2 separate regions of the Homo sapiens genome follow, and region 1 is linked to region 2. The links are contacts of gene promoters, found by promoter capture Hi-C in blood cells and fetal thymus (Javierre and others, 2016). All regions are on one chromosome and are shown on one strand. The core of a region is centred on a gene start or on the middle of the fragment in contact, and the rest is flanking DNA. Distances in the headings are between cores, read along the strand shown. Region 1 overlaps RPN1 (ribophorin I). Region 2 holds the start of CNBP (CCHC-type zinc finger nucleic acid binding protein).

Evidence for each region. Contacts are between HindIII fragments. The CHiCAGO score rates a contact against its expected background, and 5 or more counts as called.
Region 1: a fragment that was not itself captured here is called in contact with the fragment with the promoter of CNBP in region 2 in 1 of 17 cell types (naive CD8 T cells); the score reaches 5.0 in naive CD8 T cells.

What each region holds. Positions count from the first base shown.
Region 1 is chr3:128,637,213-128,641,674 of GRCh38, reverse strand. It overlaps RPN1 (ribophorin I), which reads left to right. Exons shown (of 10, transcript NM_002950.4): 3 at 3,570-3,876. Among named protein-coding and RNA genes, the nearest start is that of RPN1, 11 kb to the left of the region's middle. The HindIII fragment of the contact is 2,410 bases long and covers 1,364-3,773 here.
Region 2 is chr3:129,181,606-129,186,077 of GRCh38, reverse strand. It overlaps CNBP (CCHC-type zinc finger nucleic acid binding protein), which reads left to right and starts at 2,182. Exons shown (of 5, transcript NM_003418.5): 1 at 2,182-2,302. LOC105374101 (a long non-coding RNA gene) reads right to left here and starts at 2,004. Exons shown (of 2, transcript XR_924469.3): 1 at 1,606-2,004. RefSeq lists an enhancer at 1,759-1,848. The HindIII fragment of the contact is 13,108 bases long and covers 164-4,472 here.

The DNA of each region.
Region 1 (4,462 bases), core at 1,319-3,818, 540 kb after region 2:
TTATGCCATTGCCAGCCTGGGCAACAAAAGCAAAACTCCGTGTCAAAAAAAAAAAAAAAAAAAAAGATTCACTAAATCAATATATATATAATGTACTTGGAGCCTTAGTAAGCACTTAATAAATTTTGAATTAATCACAAAGAAGGCTAATGGAATGGAAGGAACATTTCAGGCAGAGATATCTGTAAAGATACGGAGGGTTGACATTTCATGGTGTGTTTAGTTAACTGGGCTTTCAGAGTGGCTCTTGCTCAGAGGAAGGTGAAGCTGTGTAGGGTGGGTTGAGTTCAGTTTAAGGACTGCTCTGAACCATTATTAAAGGCGTGGGCTTTATCCTTAAAGCCCACAGTTGGGAACATTAAAAAATTTTTTTTCATAGCTTACCATTTTATTCATTTCTAGTTATATGTGCATACATTATATGAATTTGTCTTTATCACCTCTTCCTGCCACAGAAACTGACCTATATGGGGTTCTCAGTAAATCAGTTTGAGTACATGAGTAAAAAACCAAGTCATTCACACAATGTTCTCCCATTAGATCCAGCTAGAGAAGAGCTTTAGGAAAAAAAAAAAAGACCTGCTCCATGTACATCAGTTTAGACAGTTCTGTGTTGTCTAGCCTTTTATTGATTGAAAAACCTTCATTAGCTGGTGCTTCCACATTTTGGTAAGACTTGATGTTCCTAATGATCTTGGAGTGCTGAAAGGTTCTGATTTGTCTTCTGAATTATCAAAGCAAAATTAAATTATGTGGCAGCATTTAACAACTTGTAAAATGAATGTGGGAATGTTGATTTGAGATTGTGTAGATGGGCTGGGGGGAAGGGAGATTAGGAGATTAATAGGAAGAGATGCAGTAGTCTAGGCACATGGTATTGGTTTGAATGGAGGAGGAGGCAAAGGAAGGGATGGGTCTGAGAGGAATTTCTGAGGCAGGATTGCCCAGGTATTGGGGACAGGGCAGAGTGAGGCATCAGAAGATGCCTGGGTTTCTAGCTTAGAGTTGATCAGATGGCAGTGGTATTAAGAGAGATCAAGACTTGGGATCATGAATGATAAGGTTTTGTTGAATTGCATGTGGGGTGGTCAGTGGAGCTGTCTAGTAAACATTTGAAAATTTGATTTTAGAATTCAGGACAGAGAGTGGGATGAGAAGCACATTTGGGACTTGAAACTAAGAATTGGTTAAGACTGTCCTGAGGAGAAGATTCCGCTACTTATATTTTGAGTAGTGAACGTCACAGTTGTAATATGAAATATAATGGTGTGACTGATAAAGACATGCAAGTTTTGTGTTCTATAAAGTCATATCAGGAAGAGTGATCCATGTTCTCACCTTTGAGGACAAACTCATTGAAGCTTATTAATTCAATTTTTCACTAGTGGTTTCTACGTCTTCTAAAAATTGTTCTCCTGGCTTGGAAAACTGATTCAGTTTAGAATTAGTACCCTGTGAATTTTAAGTTTCCAGGCCATCTGTTTTTCTTTTTTTTCCTTTTTTGAGATGGATTCTCGCTCCGTCACCCAGGCTGGAGTGCAGTGGCACAATCTCGGCTCACTGCAACCTCCGCCTCCCAGGTTCAAGCAATTCTCCTGTCTCAGCCTCCCGAGTATCTGGGACTACAGGCGCCTGCCACCACGCCCGGCTAATTTTTGTACTTTTAGTAGAGACAGGGTTTCACCTTGTTGGTAAGGCTGGTCAGCCATCTGTTTTTCTTTAAAATATTAGTAGCTTTATTTTTTTCTTGATATGAGGATGATACAAGCTCCTTATAAGACAAATTAGGGCCTGGCGCAGTGGCTCATGCCTGTAATCCCAGCACTTTGGGAGCCCGAGGCGGGTGTATCACCTGAGGTCAGGAGTTCAGACCATCCTGGCCAACGTGGCGAAATCCCCTCTGTACTAAAAACACAAAAATTAGCTGGGCGTGGTGGCGGACGCCTGTAATCCCAGCTACTGGGGAGGCTCAGGTAGGAGAATCACTTGAACCCAGCAGGCGGAGGTTGCGGTGAGCCAAGATTGTGCCATTTCACTCCAGCCTGGGCTACAAGAGTAAGACTCCGTCTCAAAAAATAATAATAATAAAAAATAAAATGAAATTGGAAAAGACAAACTAAACTTATTCTACAACCTTGAGACAGTTACCATTAACATTTTGTTGAACATTCCTTGAAATACTATTCTTTACATTCATTCATTTTTTTTTTTTTTTTTTTCTTGAGACGGTATCTCGCTCTGTCGCCCGGCTGGAGTGCAGTGGCACGATCTCGGCGCACTGCAAGCTCCGCCTTCCGGGTTCACATCATTCTCCTGCCCCAGCCTCCTGAGTAGCTGGGACTACAGGTGCCCGCCACAACGCCCGGCTATTTTTTTTTGTATTTTTAGTAGAGATGGGCTTTCACTGTGTTAGCCAGGTTGGTCTTGATCTCCTGACCTCGTGATCCACCCATCTCGGTCTCCCAAAGTGCTGGGATTACAGGCGTAAGCCACCCTCCCCGGGTCTATGTATGTTTTTAAATGGAGTTATTCTTTGTCATTTGTAAACAGATTTTCGTTATTTACATTGTACATGGACATCTTTCCATGTTAATATAGATATGTAGGTTAGCCATATTTCTAATGACTGCCAATATTCTATTGTGTGAAGCCATATTTCTAACGACTGTCAGTATTCTGTTGTGTGGTTCTATTAAAATTTTTTTTTTTGAGATGGAGTCTCTCTCTGTCACCCAGGCTGGAGTGTAGTGGCGCTATCTTGGCTCACTGCAACCTCCGCCTCCCGGGTTCAAGTGATCCTCCCACTTCAACCTCTCAAGTAGCTGGGACTACAGGTGTGCACCACCACGCCCAGCTAATTTTTGTATTTTTAATAGAGACAGGGTTTTGCCATGTTGGCCAGGCTGGTCTGGAACTCCTGACCTCAGGAAATTCACCTGACTTGGCCTCCCAAAGTGCTGGGATTACAGGCATGAGCCACTGCACCCAGCCAAGAGATCACCTTTAATATAGTAATTTAAGTCTTTTATTAACAGGACATGGTGGCAGGTGCCAGTAGTCCCAGCTACTCGGGAGGCTGAGGCAATAGAATCTCTTGAACCTGGGAGGTGGAAGTTGCAGTGAGCTGAGATCATGCCACTGCACTCCAGCCTGGGCGACAGAGCAACACTCTGTCTCAAAAAAAGAAAAAAATAATTTAAGTCTTCTAAGACAGATATGTAGCTGTTTCTCTCAGGGCTGTTTATAAATAGCAAGAGTGTAAAACAGTGTAAATGTTCAACAATGGAACAAAAGTTAAAAACATTCTAATAGGTAATCCCAGCTATTCGGGAGGTTGAGGCAGGAGAATCGCTTGAACCCAAGAGGTGGAGGTTGTGGTGAGCCGAGATCGCACCATTGCACTCCAGCCTGAGTGATAGAGTGAGACTCCATCTCAAAAAGGAAAAGGTGATCTCTTAAAGATAATTGCTTTTGTCTTTGGTTCAAAATTTTGTTGTGACTTTGAACTGCTACTACTGTTTTCAGTATCCTCAGTCTCTCTTACTTCTCTTGCCTTGTTCTTCCTTTAGTGGGAGATTCTTCACAGTCAAGCTCCCAGTTGCTCTTGATCCTGGGGCCAAGATTTCAGTCATTGTGGAAACAGTCTACACCCATGTGCTTCATCCGTATCCAACCCAGATCACCCAGTCAGAGAAACAGTTTGTGGTGTTTGAGGGGAACCATTATTTCTACTCTCCCTATCCAACGAAGACACAAACCATGCGTGTGAAGCTTGCCTCTCGAAATGTGGAGAGCTACACCAAGCTGGGGAACCCCACGCGCTCTGAGGACCTACTGGATTATGGGCCTTTCAGAGATGTGCCTGCCTATAGTCAGGTAAGCTCAGGTGGAGTCCAGCCCATCCCTGTCTGCTTCAGAGAATGTCTTGCAGAGTGACTACTGGTTGATAGGCTTGGGTGGTGTGGGGTGGATGAAATCTGCAGTCATTTCTAAGGTCATCCCAAAAGTGTTTAACCTGCAGTGAAATGACTCCATGGGGGTCTTGTTTCTCCTTGGGGGATCACAGGTAGAGGCTAGGGGTAGCATTTGGAGAGGTGGAATGGGTGTTGGAGATGGAAGCAAGGCATTCCACGCAGAGGCAGTAAGAGGGACAAAGGCTTTGAGATGGTGTGGCTGGGCAGATACTGGGGTAGCAAAGCTGTTGGAGTGGTTGAGGGCCTTCCTTGAATGTTGGGCCTTGGTTGGAACTTGAAGAGAGAGGGAGCAATTAAGGCTTACAAAGATTTTGTTACTATGGCAAATCGCAAACATGCCAAAGTACAAAGACTAGTATAAACTCCCACACACGTCACTTAGATTCAGCGGTTATCAGGTTACCATAATTAACCTACCTCTTTTTTTCTTTGGTGGAGTACTTAAAAAAATTTTTTTTTTTAAGAGACAGGATCCTGCTCTGTTGCCC
Region 2 (4,472 bases), core at 933-3,432:
CACCCAGGTTGGACTTCATACATAGCCTCTTGCATTATATTGACTCATTGTCAGAGCTCACGAAGTCACTACCTAAGTGTCTGATTGCTACACTATACATTACTTCAAGATACTATGAAGGTTAATCAGATTACAAAGGGGAAATCATAAAGCTGAGTAAGCTTCTTGGTAATAAAACTATATAAATACAAAATACTGTTTTTTATTGGCAGATAATATATCGTGTTTTAGCACAACACATAAGCTGCTAGGCATTTATTCAATCTGATTGGGAATGGGTTAAATTTGGTTAAAAAATTTTACCTTAGGTTGCTTTAATTAAAAAAATGTTTAAGGCTGAGTGCAGTGGCTCACACCTGTAATCCTAGCACTTTGGGGGCACTGGGTGCAGTGGCTCACACCTGTAATCCTAGCACTTTGGCCTAGCACCGCTTGAGGCCAGGAGTTCAAGACCAGCCTGGCCAACATGATGAAACCCCATCTCTACTAAAAATACAAAAATTAGCCAGGCGTGGTGGTGGGCGCCTGCAGTCCCAGCTACTCAGGAGGCTGAGGCAGAATTGGTCAAACATGGGAAGCGGAGGTTGCAGTGAGCTGAGACAGCACTCCAGCCTGGGCAACAGAGGGAGACCCTGTCTCAAAAAATAGTAATAAATAAATTTAAAAAGTTCGGCCAGGCGCGGTGGCTCATGCCTGTAATCCCAGTGCTTTGGGAGGACGATCACCACTTTGGGTGGGCGGATCACCTGAGGTCGGGAGTTTGAGACCAGCCTGACCAACATGGAGAAACCCCGCCTATACTAAAAATACAAAATTAGCCGGGCGTGGTGGCGCATGCCTATAATCCCAGCTACTGGGGAGGCTGAGGCAGGAGAATCACTTGAATCCAGGAGGCGGAGGTTGCAGTGAGCTGAGATCGTGCCATTGCACTCCAGCCTGGGCAACGGAGTGAGACTCCGTTCTCAAAAAAAAAAAAAAGTTTAAAATATCATTGGTCTTTAAAGTTATACATTCATTCTTTGATAATTGCTATGTTGAACGCAACCTCCTAACTGCTTTACAATGATTAAGCACTAATGATTTGAACCCAGGTTTAAAGTCTGACTCTCAACACATGTGCTCTGCCTTCTCACGAACATGATTTCAAAAATCATAGCCCCGGGATTTGGGATTGGTGGCTTATGCCTGTAAACCCAGCGACAGAGCAAGACCCTACTCTTAAAAAAAAAAAAAATTAAAGAAAAAAAGAAAAATAAATCATAGTGTTGAACTGGCAGGTTTCACTGAGACGAAACTTGGGACTCTTCCTTTTTTTTTGTTTCGAATAAAGCCATTCTAGAATGAGACAAAATTCTAAAATATTTTATAGTTAACAGTTTAAATTGGGTTTAATCTTGACAAGACTATCTAGGGCTATATACACAAATCTCTTTTGGAGAAAATACCACAACTAAACTGAAGTCTATTCCTGAATATGACAGACCAGGTCAAATGGTTATCCTTGCCCTCCCGGGGGATGTCACTCATAAACGTGCCAAAAGTCACAGTCTAGGCCCCATTACCTTACATGCTCATGACCTTCCCAGGGAGGCCCCTCGCCCTTACCAGGCACTTTCATCTTGGGAAGACACATCAGTCCTGGCGGAGAAAGCAGCAAGGCCTTTCCCCGGCTCACAAAAATTAATACAAATCTCAGAGGCTGCATCCCACAGCCGTGACCACCGTGACTTGGCATCCCCTTTTCTGCAAACTTAAATGTTATCTAGAAATCGGGCCTGGCTCTGAAAGCCAAGGGCCTGGCAGGAGCCCGAGAAAGGGGAGAAACTTTCTGCGGCCCCAAGCTAATGGCAGTCACTGCACCGAGACCCGTCCCCTGGCATCCCTTTGCTCCAGCTGGCCAAGACAGACCACCAAGGTCAGCCAGATTTCCACCCAGTCTGGCCGGGCCCGGACCCAGCTGGGAATGAACCGAGAAGCACCGGGACCCGGATCCCGGCGTGAAAGGCCGCGCGCGGGGCACGGCGGGAAAAGACGCTGCGCGCAGAAACACCCGCCCCGCGCCGCGCTCTAGTGGGCGGCCCTGCCGCGGGCGGCTCTGATTGGACTGCCGAACCCCGCGCGCTGATTGGCCGCGTGGGCGAGGCGGAGGAGAGCCGTGCGCAGCGGCGTATGTGGGGCCGTGTGCAGACCCGCGTGTGGCGCAGGCAAGGACCCTCAAAATAAACAGCCTCTACCTTGCGAGCCGTCTTCCCCAGGCCTGCGTCCGAGTCTCCGCCGCTGCGGGCCCGCTCCGACGCGGAAGGTGAGGGCTGGGGGAGGGGCCCGGCGCTGACGGAGCCGCAGTGCGGGTCGGGTCTGTGGCGGACAGAGAGGGTAGGGAGCGGCGAGGTGGCGATGGCGGCCGCACTTTGGCCTGCGCCTCTGCTGCGTCAGGCGGGAAGCTCGGCTGCTGCCGCCGCCTCGGACCCGGGTTTCTGGCGCACCGCTGTCGGACGACACTTCTGTCCTTTCTTCGTCCTGGAAAGCTGGGTCGCCGAGCATGCGGGTCTTTCGGCGCCACGGCCGCACCCCAGGCCGCAGGCTTAGGGCAGAGGAGGCCCGCCCGTGCGCCCTTGGGGCCGAGGCCCTGACGCTTCGAGGGTCGCGGAATGAGGGACCGAGGGTGGATTTGGCGGGAACTCACTGGAAGGAGTCCGTGTGGTGGGGAAAGGCTCCCGGCTGCGGATGAAGGGGGGATGGGGTGGGTATAGTCGTGCAGGCCATGTGCTGGGGTCGTGCGCCTGGCGGGCCATGTGCCAAGGGTTTTGGGGGCCTTAGAAAAGGGTTCTTAGGCCGGGCGCGGTGGCTCACGCCTGTAATCCCAGCACTTTGAGAGTCCCAGGCGGGCGGATCACGAGGTCAGGAGTTCGAGACCAGCCTGACCAATATGGTGAAAGTTGGTCTGTACTAAAAATAAAAAATTAGCCGGGCATGGTGGCGGGCGCATGTAGTCCCAGCAGCTCGGGAGGCTGGACAGGAGAATCGCGTGAACCCCGGAGGCCGAGGTTGTGGTGAGCCGAGATCGCGCCACTACACTCCAGCATGGGCAACAGAGAGAGACTCCGTCTTAAAAAAACAAACAAACAAACAAACAAACAACAACAAAGGGTTCCTGAAGAAGCCTTTGTGTTTGGAGTGGCGAGACTGCTGGAAGACTTGGGAGCTTTTAGAGTTTATACTCCCTATCCTTGATAGTTTTCCGATTCTTGAATTTTTATCGTCATTTAAATACTAAGTTGCTTGTGTTACATTACCATTCCAAAAGGGGCTGATGGGGCTCACATTCCAAGAGTTAACACTATTTAAGTTGCTGGGATCCTTTAAAAGCGCCATTACCAGAAAAAACACGAATTTGTCAAACCTCCAAAACCACAGCAGCGGGCGGTAGTCTGCATCATTTCTTGGATTAATGAAACAGATGTAATTACAAACGAGACACGAAATTCAACTAGCTCCCCTCCATCTAGATTTTTCCATATCGTGAGAACCTGTTTTAGAATGGCATAATGGTCCACATTTGGGTTTAGGTGTTGATTTTATTATGGGTAAGGCTTGTGCTTGTTCCCACATGTTAACCATATGGCCTCAGCCACAGGGCACTTCCAAAGGAAGTGACTGTTTCTGGTCTTGGGGGTCTTGTAAAAAGAGAACATTGCTCAGTAATCGTCTGTGATTTTAGCTAGTGTGTTTCAGGCATTATTCAGAAGGACTCAGGTGAGATAAGCCAAAACTGAATTTGTTTTTTGTCTTTCTCAAAGTGAAGGAGGTCTAATGAATATCCCCATCTTGCTTTTAAATTACATTTTTAAAAGTAGATTTTTCCCCCTTTCCTATTGTTTGACCCAATTTTGGAGTGAAACGTAACCAGTTACTATTTCCATTCGAATTTAAATTAGCAATTTTATGTTATTTGTTTGTTCAAGCAGTATAACTGGAGTGTAGAGCTTTGAGGGTTTCAAAAAGATAAGAGATATAGTACTTATCTCCTGGGCTTCCCCCTCCCCCCTCCTAAATAGTTTTAAATGCTTCTAATGAGTTACTCTGGTTAAGGATAATCAAACACCTGTAAACTGCCAGGATCCTAGGTACATGCTGTTTTTAGTTTGTTGAGCCTGATTCTTGTCTACAAGAGTTCTTTGTGTATTGGAATATAAAAGGAATAATTTATTACATTCCCAAGGGCAGAATTAAAGACTTAAGTTTTTCCGATTTCATCTCTTGATAAGTTTTTCTTTAAAAAAATAACAGTTTGTGTTTTTCTGAGGAACCAAAGGTCCTCTTTTTTTTCATATTGGTAACAGGAGAGGTAATGTATTTCAGATGGTGCAGTCTGTAAAATATTTTGAACCAAATCAGTGGAAGACCAGGGGTTTTTCTTTTTTTTTTTCTGAGACGGAGTCTCACTCTGTCGCCCAAGCTGGAGTGCAGTGGCG